4 separate regions of the Homo sapiens genome follow, and regions 1, 2 and 3 are each linked to region 4. Evidence: promoter capture Hi-C in 16 types of primary human blood cells and fetal thymus (Javierre and others, 2016). All regions are on one chromosome and are shown on one strand. The core of a region is centred on a gene start or on the middle of the fragment in contact, and the rest is flanking DNA. Distances in the headings are between cores, read along the strand shown.

The links. Contacts are between HindIII fragments. The CHiCAGO score rates a contact against its expected background, and 5 or more counts as called.
Region 1: a contact is called between a fragment that was not itself captured here and the fragment with the promoter of NLGN3 in region 4, in 2 of 17 cell types (M2 macrophages and naive B cells). The highest score is 5.8, in M2 macrophages.
Region 2: a contact is called between a fragment that was not itself captured here and the fragment with the promoter of NLGN3 in region 4, in 1 of 17 cell types (M2 macrophages). The highest score is 5.2, in M2 macrophages.
Region 3: a contact is called between a fragment that was not itself captured here and the fragment with the promoter of NLGN3 in region 4, in 1 of 17 cell types (total B cells). The highest score is 6.1, in total B cells.

Annotation. Positions count from the first base shown.
Region 1 is chrX:71,345,188-71,347,887 of GRCh38, forward strand. No RefSeq gene overlaps it. Among named protein-coding and RNA genes, the nearest start is that of TAF1, 20 kb to the right of the region's middle. The HindIII fragment of the contact is 5,105 bases long and covers 1-2,700 here.
Region 2 is chrX:70,993,959-70,996,706 of GRCh38, forward strand. No RefSeq gene overlaps it. Among named protein-coding and RNA genes, the nearest start is that of SLC7A3, 64 kb to the left of the region's middle. The HindIII fragment of the contact is 8,810 bases long and covers 1-2,748 here.
Region 3 is chrX:71,390,751-71,393,450 of GRCh38, forward strand. TAF1 (TATA-box binding protein associated factor 1) reads left to right here. Exons shown (of 38, transcript NM_004606.5): 19 at 1,819-1,968; 20 at 2,125-2,244; 21 at 2,551-2,700. Among named protein-coding and RNA genes, the nearest start is that of TAF1, 26 kb to the left of the region's middle. The HindIII fragment of the contact is 3,497 bases long and covers 1-2,700 here.
Region 4 is chrX:71,143,500-71,146,199 of GRCh38, forward strand. It overlaps NLGN3 (neuroligin 3), which reads left to right and starts at 1,342. Exons shown (of 8, transcript NM_181303.2): 1 at 1,342-1,465. LOC124905197 (a long non-coding RNA gene) reads right to left here. Exons shown (of 4, transcript XR_007068262.1): 4 at 1-128. RefSeq lists a silencer at 2,158-2,413. The HindIII fragment of the contact is 4,718 bases long and covers 1,112-2,700 here.

The DNA.
Region 1 (2,700 bases), core at 122-2,621, 200 kb after region 4:
AACTCCTGACCTCAAGTGATCCACCCACCTCGGCTTCTAAAAGTGCTGGGATTACAGGCATGAGCCACCATGCCCAGTCAGCTCAACAATAGCACACTGTTCTTTGTTCTCTTTTTCCATTCTGATGCTAGAGTTTGATAGTAGGGGAGGTTGTGGGGTGCAGCACGGAATATATGGGAACTCTCTGTACTTTCCACTTGATTTTACTGTGAACTTAAAATTGCTCTAAAAAATAAAGTCTATTTTTGGTAGAAACAGGGTTTCATCGTGTTGCCCAGGCTAGTCTCAAACTCCTGAGCTCATGCAATCTGCCCACTTCAGCCTTGCAAAGTGCTGGAATTATTAGGCATGGGCCACTGTGCCCAACCTGGAAATATATTAATGTAAGGTTTGTTTTTTTTTTGAGGGAGTCTCGCTCTATTGCCCAGGCTGGAGTGCAGTGGCATGATCTCGGCTCACTGTAATCTCCACCTCCCAGGTTCAAGCGATTCTCCTGCCCCAGCCTCCCGAGTAGCTGGGACTACAGGCATGCACCACCACACCTGGCCAATTTTTGTATTTTTAGTAGAGATGGGGTTTTGCCATGTTGGCCAGGCTGGTCTCGCACTCCTGACCTCAGATGATCTGCCTGCCTCAGCCTACCAGTGTGCTGAGATTACAGGCGTGAGCAACCGCACCTGGCCTATTAATGTAAGGCTGTTACACTCTCTGTGAAATAGTATAATATTTGAAGGTAGATGGAGATAGGTTAAAAATGTCTCTATAAACCTGTAAGCAACCACTAAAACAAGGAGGAATAGCTAATAACCCAATATAGGAGATATAATGGAATAAAAGTAATATTGACTAATCCAAAAGAAGTCAGAAAAAGAGAACAAAGAGATGGGACGAATAAAAACAAGATGATAGACCCAAATCTAATTATATTAACAATCATTAAACTTAGATGTTCTTAACACCCTAATTACAGGGTAGAGATGATCAGATTGGGTAGAAAAGCAAGATTTGCCAGGTGCAGTGGTTCACACCTATAATTTCAGCACTTTGGGAGCTGAAGGCAGGTGTATTGCTTGAGCCCAGGAGTTCAAGACCAGCCTGGGCAACACAGAGACCTGTCTCTGCAAAAAGTAAAACTAGACAGGTGGCTGGGCACGGTGGCTCACGCCTGTAATCCTAGCACTTTGGGAGGCCGAGAAGAGCAGATCACCTGAGGTCAGGAATTTGAGACCAACCTGGCCAACATGGCGAAGCCCCCTCTCTACTAAAAATACAAACATTAGCCAGGTGTGGTGGCGCGTGCCTGTAGTCTCAGCTACTTAGGAGGCTGAGGCAGGAGAATCGCTTGAACCCGGGAGGTGGAGGTTGCAGTGAGCCGAGATTGCACCACTGCACTCCAGCCTGGATAACAGAGCGAGACTCTGTCTCAACAAAACAAAACAAAACATAACAAAACAAAACAGCAAAGACACAGGCCGCATGCATAATTCTAACACTTTGGGAGGCTGAGGTGGGCAGATCACTTGAGCCCAAGAGTTCGAGACCAGCCTGGGCAACATGGTGAAACCCTGTCTCTACAAAAAATACAAAAATTAGCTGGGCATGGTGGTGCTCGCCTGTAGTGGAGAGGCTGTGGTGGGAGGATCACCTGAGCCCAGGAGGTGGAGGCTGGGGTGAGCTGTGGTCATATCACTGCACTCCAGCCTAGGGACAGAGTGAGATTCTGTCTCAAAAAATAAATGAATAAAGAAATAAAATTAATTAAAAATTTTAAATTTATTTTAAAATTATAAAAACAATAAATAAAAATTAAAAATGTAATATACCAAAAACCACTGAATTGTAAATTTTAAATGGTGTATGAATTTATATCTCAGTAAAGCTGTACGATTCCATTTATATAAAACTCTTGGAAATTCAAACTAATGTACACTGATAGAAAGGAACTGTAATTCTCGCACTACCTCATTGTCTTTTTTTTTTTTTAAGATTATATTTGTTTTGGAGACTGGGCTCTCGCGATGTTGCCTAGGCTGGACTTGAACTCCTGGGCTCAAGCGATCCTCTCCCACTCAGCCTCCAGAGTAGCTGGGACTACAGGCGGGCACCACCACACTCGGTTTGTGTTTTTGTTTATCTTTTTAAGAATTATTTTATTAAAAAAAATTATTTTTTGGTTTGTTTGTTGAGACAGAGTTTCGTTCTTGTTGCCCAAGCTGGAGCGCAATGGTGCGATTTTGGCTCATTGCAAGTTCAAGTGATTCGCGTGCCTCAGTCTCCTGAGTAGCTGGGATTACAGGCATGCACCGCCACGCCTGGCTAATTTTGTATTTTTAGTACAGATGGGGTTTCACCATGTTGGTCAGGCTGGTCTCGAACTCCTGACCTCAGGTCATCGCACCTCTGTCTCCCAAAGTGTTGGGATTACAGGCGTGAGCCACCGCACCTGGCCTTTTTTTTTTTTTTTTTTTTTGAGATGGAGTTTTGCTCTTGTCACCCAGGCTGGAGTGCAATGGCATGATCTTGGCTCACTGCAACCTCGGCCTCCCGAGTTCAAGCGATTCTCCTGCCTCAGCCTCCCGAGCAGCTGGGATTATAGGCGCATGCCACTATACCCGGCTAATTTTTGTATTTTTAGTAGAGATGGGGTTTCATCATGTTGGTCAGGCTGGTCTCGAACTCCTGACCTCAGTTGATCCCCTC
Region 2 (2,748 bases), core at 145-2,644, 150 kb before region 4:
CCTTGAGGTTTTCCTCATTCAGTATGATACTAGCTGTGGTCTGTCATATATGGCTTGTGTTGTGTTGAGGTATGTTTCTTCTATACCCAGTTTCTTGAGGATTTTTATCATGAAGGGATGTTGAATTTTATTAAATGTTTTTTCAGCATCAGTTGAAATGATCATATGGTTTCTGTCCTTTGTTCTATTGGTATGACATATCTCATTGATTGATTTGCATACATTAAACCATCCTTGCATCCAGAGATAAATCCCACTTGGCCATGATGAATGATCTTTTAATGTGTTGTTGAATTCGATTTGCTAGTCTTTTTTTGTCTTTTTTTTTTTTTTAGTAGAGACAGGGTCTCACTATGTTGCCCAGTCTGGTCTCAAACTCCTGGCTTCAAGTAATCCTCCCACATTGGCCTCCCAAAGCACTGGGATTGACAGGCATGAGCCATTGCATCTGACTGGTTTGTTAGTATTTTCTTGAGGATTTTTTTTTTTTGAGATAAGATCTCACCCTGTTGCCCAGGCTGGAGTGCAGTGGCACGATCTCAACTCACTGCAACCTCTGCCTCCCAGGTTCAAGCAATTCTCATGGCTCAGCCTCCTGAGTAGCTGGGTTTACAGACGTGCAGCAACACGCCCAGCTAATTTTTGTATTTTTAGTAGAGATGGGGTTTCACCGTGTTGGCCGCGCTGGTCTCAAACTCCTGGCCTCATGTGATCCACCCGCCTCATCCTCCCAAAGTGCTGGGATTACAGGCGTGAGCCACCATGCCTGGCCTTCTTGAGAATTTTTACGTTAACGTTCATCAGGGATACTGGCCTGTAGTTTTCTTTTTCTGAAGTGTCTTTGTCTGGTTTTGGTATCAGGGTAATACTGGCCTTGTAGAGTGTGTTTGAAAATATTCCCTCCTCCTCTGTTATTCAGAATAGTTTGAATAGGATTGGTATTAGTTCTTCTTAAAATGTTTGGTAAAATTCAGCAGTGAAGCCATTGGGCCCCAGGATTATCTTTGCTGGGAGACTTAGTATTATAGCTTCGATCTCATTACTTGTTATTGGTGTGTTCAAGTTTTGGATTTCTTCATGGTTCAATCTTGGGAAGGTGTATATGTCTAGGAATTTATTCATTTCTTCAAGGTTTTCTAACTTATTGGCATATAGTTGCTCATAGTGGCCTCTAATGATCCTTTGAATTTCTGCAGTATCAGTTGTAAAGTCTCCCTTTTCATCTGTGATTTTATTTATTTGGATAATCTCTCTTCTGTTCTTAGTCTGACTAAAGGTTTGTCAATATTGTTTATCTTTTCCAAAAAATACACAACTTTTCATTTCATCAATCTTTTGTATTGTTTTATTTGTTTCAATTTCACTTATTTCTGCTCTGATCATTACTATCTATTTTCTTCTACTAATTTTGGGGTTGTTTTTTCTTGTTTTTCTAGTTTTTCTAGTTCTGTCTCATGCATCATTAGGTTCTATTCTTCAAATAAACCACCTAATGATGCATGTTAAAGAACTAGAAAAGTTCATTTAGGTTGTTTATCTCTTCAACTAGAACTAGGTTGAAGTTTTTTCTAGGTTGGTGCAAAAGTAATTGCGGTTTTTGCCATTGAAAGTGAAAACCATTACTTTTTGCCATTATGTTCAATGGCAAAAACCGCGATTACTTTTGCATCAACCTAATACTTTTTTGACGTAGGTGCTTATAGCTATAAACTTCCCTCTTAGTACTGCTTTCACTGCGTCCCATAGGTTTGGGTATGTTGTGCTTCCATTATCATTTGTTTCAAGAAATTTTTCAGTTTTCTTCTCATTTTTTTTATTGGCCTACTTGTCATTTAAGTGCATGGTGTTTAATTTCCATGTGTTTGTATAGTTTCCAAAATTCCTCTTGTTATTGATTTCTAGTTTTATTCCACTGTGGTCAGAGAATGTACTTGACATAATTTTTTTTTAATGTTTTAAGACTTGTTTTGTGGCCTAACATATAGTCTATCCTTGAGGATGATCCATTTGCTGATGAGAAGATGTGTATTCTGCAGCCATTGGATGAAATGTTCTGTAAATATCTTTTAGATCAGTTTGCAGATCTTAATCTATAGTGCAGATTAAGTCCAATGTTTCTTTGTTGGTTTTCTGTCCAGATGATCTGTCCAATGCTAAAAGTGAGGTGTTGAAGTCTACAGCTATTATTGTATTAGGTTCTGTCTCTTTCTTTAGCTCTAATAATATTCCTTTTGTATATCAGGGTGCTCTGGTGTTGGATGCATATGTATTTAAAATTGTTATATCCTCTTGCTGAATTTATCATTATATAATGACCTTCTTTGTCTCTTTATATATAATGACCTTCTTTGTCTCTTTATATATATTTATATTTATATTATATAATGACCTTCTTTGTCTCTTTATAGTTTTTGTCTTGAAATCTATTTTGTCTGACAGAAGTACAGCTACTCCTTCTCCTTTTTTATTTCCATTGGCATGGAATATCTTTTTCCATCCCTTTATTTTCAGTCTATGTGTGTCTTTATAGGGGAAGTGTGCTTCTTGTAGGCAACAGATCATTGGGTCTTGCTTTTTTTTTATCCATTCAGCCACTCTGTGTCTTTTGATTGGAGAGTTGAGTCCATTTACATTCAATGTTATTATTAAACTGATGACAACTTAACACTAATTGCATGAACAAACAAGGTAACTAACAAACAAGCAAAGAGAAAACTAATAAAAACTCTACACTTTAACCTCATCCTC
Region 3 (2,700 bases), core at 184-2,683, 250 kb after region 4:
TTTGGGAGGCCGAGGCGGGCAGATCACCTGAGGTCAGGAGTTCGAGACCAGCCTGGCCAACATGGTGAAACCCTGACTCTACTAAAAATACAAAATGAGCCGGGCGTGGTGGCGTGCGCCTGTAATCCCAGCTACTTGGGAGGCTGAGGCAGGAGAATCACTTGAACCTGGGAGGTGGAGGTTGCCGGGAGCTGAGACCACGCCATTGTAGTCCAGCCTGGACTAAAAGAACGAATCTCCATCTCAAAAAAAAAAAAGAAAGAAAGAAATGGGATCTTACTGTGTTGCCCAGGCTGATTTTGAACTCCTAGGCTCAAACGATCGTCCTGCCTTGGCCTTCTAAAGTGTTGGGATGATAGGCATGAACCACTGTGCCTGGCCTCTACTTTCTTCCCGTGGCACTGATCACATAGTACTGAACTTGGTTGGCTGTTTTTCCCTCACTAACTTGAGGTTCATGAAAAAGTAGTATGGAGGAGTAGTGTGTAGTTGGTATTCAATAAATATTTGTTAAATGAATTAAGTGATTATAAAATGAAGCAGAAAATGAGGCCACACAGAGTGAGTAAAGAATCGTTGTACTACTCTCTTGAGGTTGGAATGAAAAATGAGTGGATATCTAAGAATTTCAGAAATTAAGAATTCTTTTGAGGCCAGGCGCAGTGGCTCAGGCCTGTAATCATAGCATTTGGGGAGGCCAAGGTGGGAGGGTTACTTGAGGCCAAGGGTTCAAGACCAACCTGGCCAACATAGTGAGACCCTGTCTCTAAAAAAGAAAAACAATTTTTTTTAAATTAAAAATAAAAAAAGAATTCTGTTGAATGGCTTTCCAGATTGAACCTTAGAGAATGGCCATTTTCTTGCTAATCATATATACTCTTTTTTTTTTTTTTTTTGAGACAGAGTCTCACTCTGTCTCCCAGGCTGGAGTGCAGTGGTGCAGTCTGCTGACTGCAACCTCTGCCTGCTGGGTTCAAGCCATTCTCGTGCCTCAGCCTTCTGAGTAGCTGGGACTATAGGTGTGCGCCACCACGCCTGGCTAATTTTTGTACTTTTAGTAGAGATGGGGTTTCACCATGTTGGCCAGGCTGGTCTTGAACTCCTGGCCTCAAGAGATCTGCCCGCCTCAGCCTCCCAGAGTGTTGGGATTACAGGTGTGAGTCACCACACCTGGCCTCATGTACTCCTGACTGGTCTGTGTGGGCAGGCACATTCACCCCTTGGCTTAATTCTTTAAGAATCTTGCAGGGGTTGGTAAACACTATTCAGGGTCCCAGGAGAGGACAGACCTTTTTGACCAAACCAGTGGCAGAAATAGAATGGACTTTGGTTTAGTGTCACTGGAAAAGGGGCCAATGCTTTGAAAGCAAGCATGTCAAGTATTTCGAGAAAATAGGTTTCATTCTAAAACAGCTGTTTGAGCAATTGGACAATCAAATGTAGTCATTAGTCTAATTTTGAGCATCATGAGGGTGAGGGAAACACTGTCCTTAAGAATGTTTATTGAAGCCCAAGGGATAAGGGGCTGAAGGGATACCACTGTTCTTTATTTTTCTCCTTATCCTGCCTGAGCTCTTGACCTCTATTTAATATCATGTTGTAAGTATTGTACCATAGGATAGAAGAGAACTGAGTACTAGGTAGCTATATTTAACTGTTGATTTTTGTGGACAGTTTAAGAGAGCATGAACCCACAGAAATTAAAAATTAGAAAAAAAGAACATGAAAATAGTTTGTAATTATTCTACTCTTGTAGATATTGGCTAGACATAGAACAAATGTTTCCCACTGCCCTGAGAATCTTTTTCTTTATCTCAGGTTCGCACTGCCCCTTGGAACACCACAAGGGCCTTCATTGCTGCCATGAAGGGCAAGTGTCTGCTAGAGGTGACTGGGGTGGCAGATCCCACGGGGTGTGGTGAAGGATTCTCCTATGTGAAGATTCCAAACAAACCAACACAGCAGAAGGTGAGATTGTGTTTATTTCTAGAATGAAAAAGTCAAGGGAGAAAGAAATGGGTGAGTGGAGGACTTGGAATGTAGTTAAGGTAGCAGAATGACTTAGATGCCTACTTAAAAGGAATTCAGGTTTTTAGGAGTCTCACTTTTTTTTGTTTGAGGTAGGATGATAAAGAACCGCAGCCAGTGAAGAAGACAGTGACAGGAACAGATGCAGACCTTCGTCGCCTTTCCCTGAAAAATGCCAAGCAACTTCTACGTAAATTTGGTGTGCCTGAGGAAGAGGTGAGTGTGGAAGTGGAAAATTTAGAGTATACTAGGGGCTTTGTATAGAGTTGGAATTGCTAGGAGGCAGATGTAAAGAACTATCTGGGGAACTTTATTGTAGGGTATAGTAAGCTAAGTCTTAGATATTGTTTTAGGAGTTATCTTTCTATGTAATCTGCTTTGGGGTGATTTTTCTTTTTTGGTCTAACTGTGTACATTGGCTTGTCCTTTGAAATCCCTGAATGATTTGTGTGTGTGTGTGTGTGTGTGTGTGTGTGTGTGTGTGTGTATATTTATATTTGTGTGTGGCTATTTGTCTCGTAGATTAAAAAGTTGTCCCGCTGGGAAGTGATTGATGTGGTGCGCACAATGTCAACAGAACAGGCTCGTTCTGGAGAGGGGCCCATGAGTAAATTTGCCCGTGGATCAAGGTTTTCTGTGGCTGAGCATCAAGAGCGTTACAAAGAGGAATGT
Region 4 (2,700 bases), core at 92-2,591:
CATCATGCACCAAGTGGCATACCTTTCATAGGACAGAGAACTTCCCTGAGAGTCACATTCCTGGATGAAAAATTGCCCTCCATTGGCATGTGCCATCATAGAATAGGTCGTGGAAGGACCGTTTGGTTCTAGGAGGAAGAGAGACCAGTAAAAATAAGCACCCTTTCTCTCTCTGCCCTACTGCCAGAACTGCCTGTTCTCACGTGACCCACCTTGGCAGTTACCCAGGATGACTTGCTCGCTCCCATTTTACAGTAGAGAAAACTCAAAACTGTTGCCCCAGAGTCACATTTGGAGCTGCGGCAGGGCCATTCTCGCCCTCTTGCTTTCCAGTTTGAGTTCTAGATCCAAGGCTGTCCAGGAGAGCCAACTGGTTTACTACAATGGAGTCTTGGAGTCTTCTGCCCTGCCTAGCTAGGGCTGGAAGAGGATCAGCCTCAGCCTTGTGAGTGGGTGGTACAGGATGATTTGACAACTTAAGGATAACATGCAAGCCATAGTTGCACCCTATTACTGGGAAGTGTCTAGTGTGCTGGCAAAACCAGGAGCACCAATCAGTACCCAAGTTATAAAAAATAAAATAGCCCTCTTTGAGGCCCACGAAGCCCTTGCTTATATGGGACTTACCAAGTTTAAGAGTTGCGTGCACAAGGAATGGAACTCCCCAACAGTGTAAAGGCAAACATGACTGAAGCTTTCTTCTCACTTATTCTATCCTGACATAAACATTCTGAGGAGCCACAGGAGTACAGGCTTGGCTGGGATGAGGGACATTCAGAGGGGCTTGGGGGTTGCTAAACAAATGGCAGGTGCGCCACATACAAAAACACAAGACACAAAGACACTGAACCTGGAGGGGAGAGACTGAAATGGTCAGACAACTGGCATGCTGACAGTCTGACATGCCCCAGCAGAAGCAGCAGAAGGGAACAGCATTGACCTTTGGGAGAGTGACAGGATGAGAGCAGAGTGGCCCCACTGGTTGCTGCTTGGGTAGTGCTGGCGCTGAGAAATAAGGGATGCTGATTGAGGTGGAGGTGTGTTTTTGTGTAGTATGACTGAGGGTTCCTGCAGGCAGTGCCTCAGTTTCTCCCTTTGGGACAAAGTCTCAAGCTTTGCGGGTAAAGTTTGGGCTAGCTGCCCTGGAAGATCACCTGTCTGATAGCTTGCAATCTGAGGTGTGTGTGCGCGCCCGCGTGAGAGAGAGGGAGCGGAACGTGCCTGAGCATGGGGGGAATTGGGCCATGCCCCAGGACTTGAGCCATCTCTGGCACAAAAGGAGTTAATGGCAGGGACCGCGCCCCCCCGTGTCCGGGAACGCGCAGCGCGCCCCCTCGGTGCGCGGGCACAGCAGCCAGGCTGCCGGAGAGCTGATCTCGGGGATTCGGGTGCGGAGCCCTTGGCCTGGAGGCGATATGGGTGGTCCGTGGCCCGGTTCAGTCGCTTGCAGCAGCCCGGGGAACAGGTGAGGCCGCCTGCCCCGGTCTCTCATCCTCTAGCTGCCCATACCTTGCCCCCATCCTAACCCCTCCCAATCCCAGGCTCCTCCACTCCCCAGCCAGTGGCCCCCATCCCTCTCAACCCCATGTTCTCCATCGGTACCCCTGACCCCCGATCCTCCCCCGCTTCTGTTCTCCCTTCTACCTCCTCCCTAAATCCCGCATCCCTAACATCCTCCCGCCCATGGTCCCTCTATTTCCACAGCCCATCCCGCATGCTCATCAAAATACCCCTATTGAGGGCCCCCAGCCCCATCCCGGGATTGCACATTGCCAGTCCCCCCTCCCCTGCAGTGCAGCCCCATCCCCCTTCCATCATAGCATCTCATAGCCAGGCTCCCTCCCCCACTATCTGCAGCCCCCCCACCCAATGGAGGCCTTTATCCTATCCTCCCCCATTCCAGTGCAACTCCATCCCCCAATCCATTCCAAGCCCTCGTAGCCCCCAATACTGCAGTTCTCAATATTGGTCCATTCCTGCACAATGCCCCGCGCCCAGCACCGCTGCAGCCCCAAAAGTACCCCGAGATGCCATTCTCATCCCCGGCATTGCTGCCTCCCCTTGTCTTCTCCCAAATTGCAAGTTGGACCAGGATGGAGATCTTGGCCTTGGGGATTCACAGTGGGTCCTAGGGTACAGAGGGCGTTTGGGGGTCGGTCCGATTGTCTAGGTGTTCACGGGGGAGGGGCTGCAGGGAATTGACTCAAAGGAGAATTTGGCATTTGGCGCCGAAGGGTTACTGGAGAGGAGGGCATCCCGAAAGGGTTAATGGAATTTGTGGGTTGGGGGCAGCACCGAGGGGGTTAATGTGGGGGGGTTGCTGGTGGGGAAGCTGTGTGAATGAGCGGTCTGTGCCCTGGAGTTGCCATGGAGACGGTGAATGGGGGGATTGTGTGAACTCAGCTGCGGACTATGCCCCCCCCAATACACACACCCACCCACTCCCTCCTGCCCCACCTCCCTACTCCTACCCCTTCCTTCCCCTTCCCCTCCTCCCCACACCCGGGTGCATTCTGGGCAGTGTCTGGGATCTTACCCCCCATACTTTGCTCCCCATTTCCTCATTTCCTCTGAGCCCCCACCCCTTTAGCCACTTTACCCGCCCTCCCTCCTCTTCCTTTTTCTTCTCTCTCTCTCTCTCTCTCTCTCTCTCTCACACACACACACACACAGACACACACACACACACACACACACACA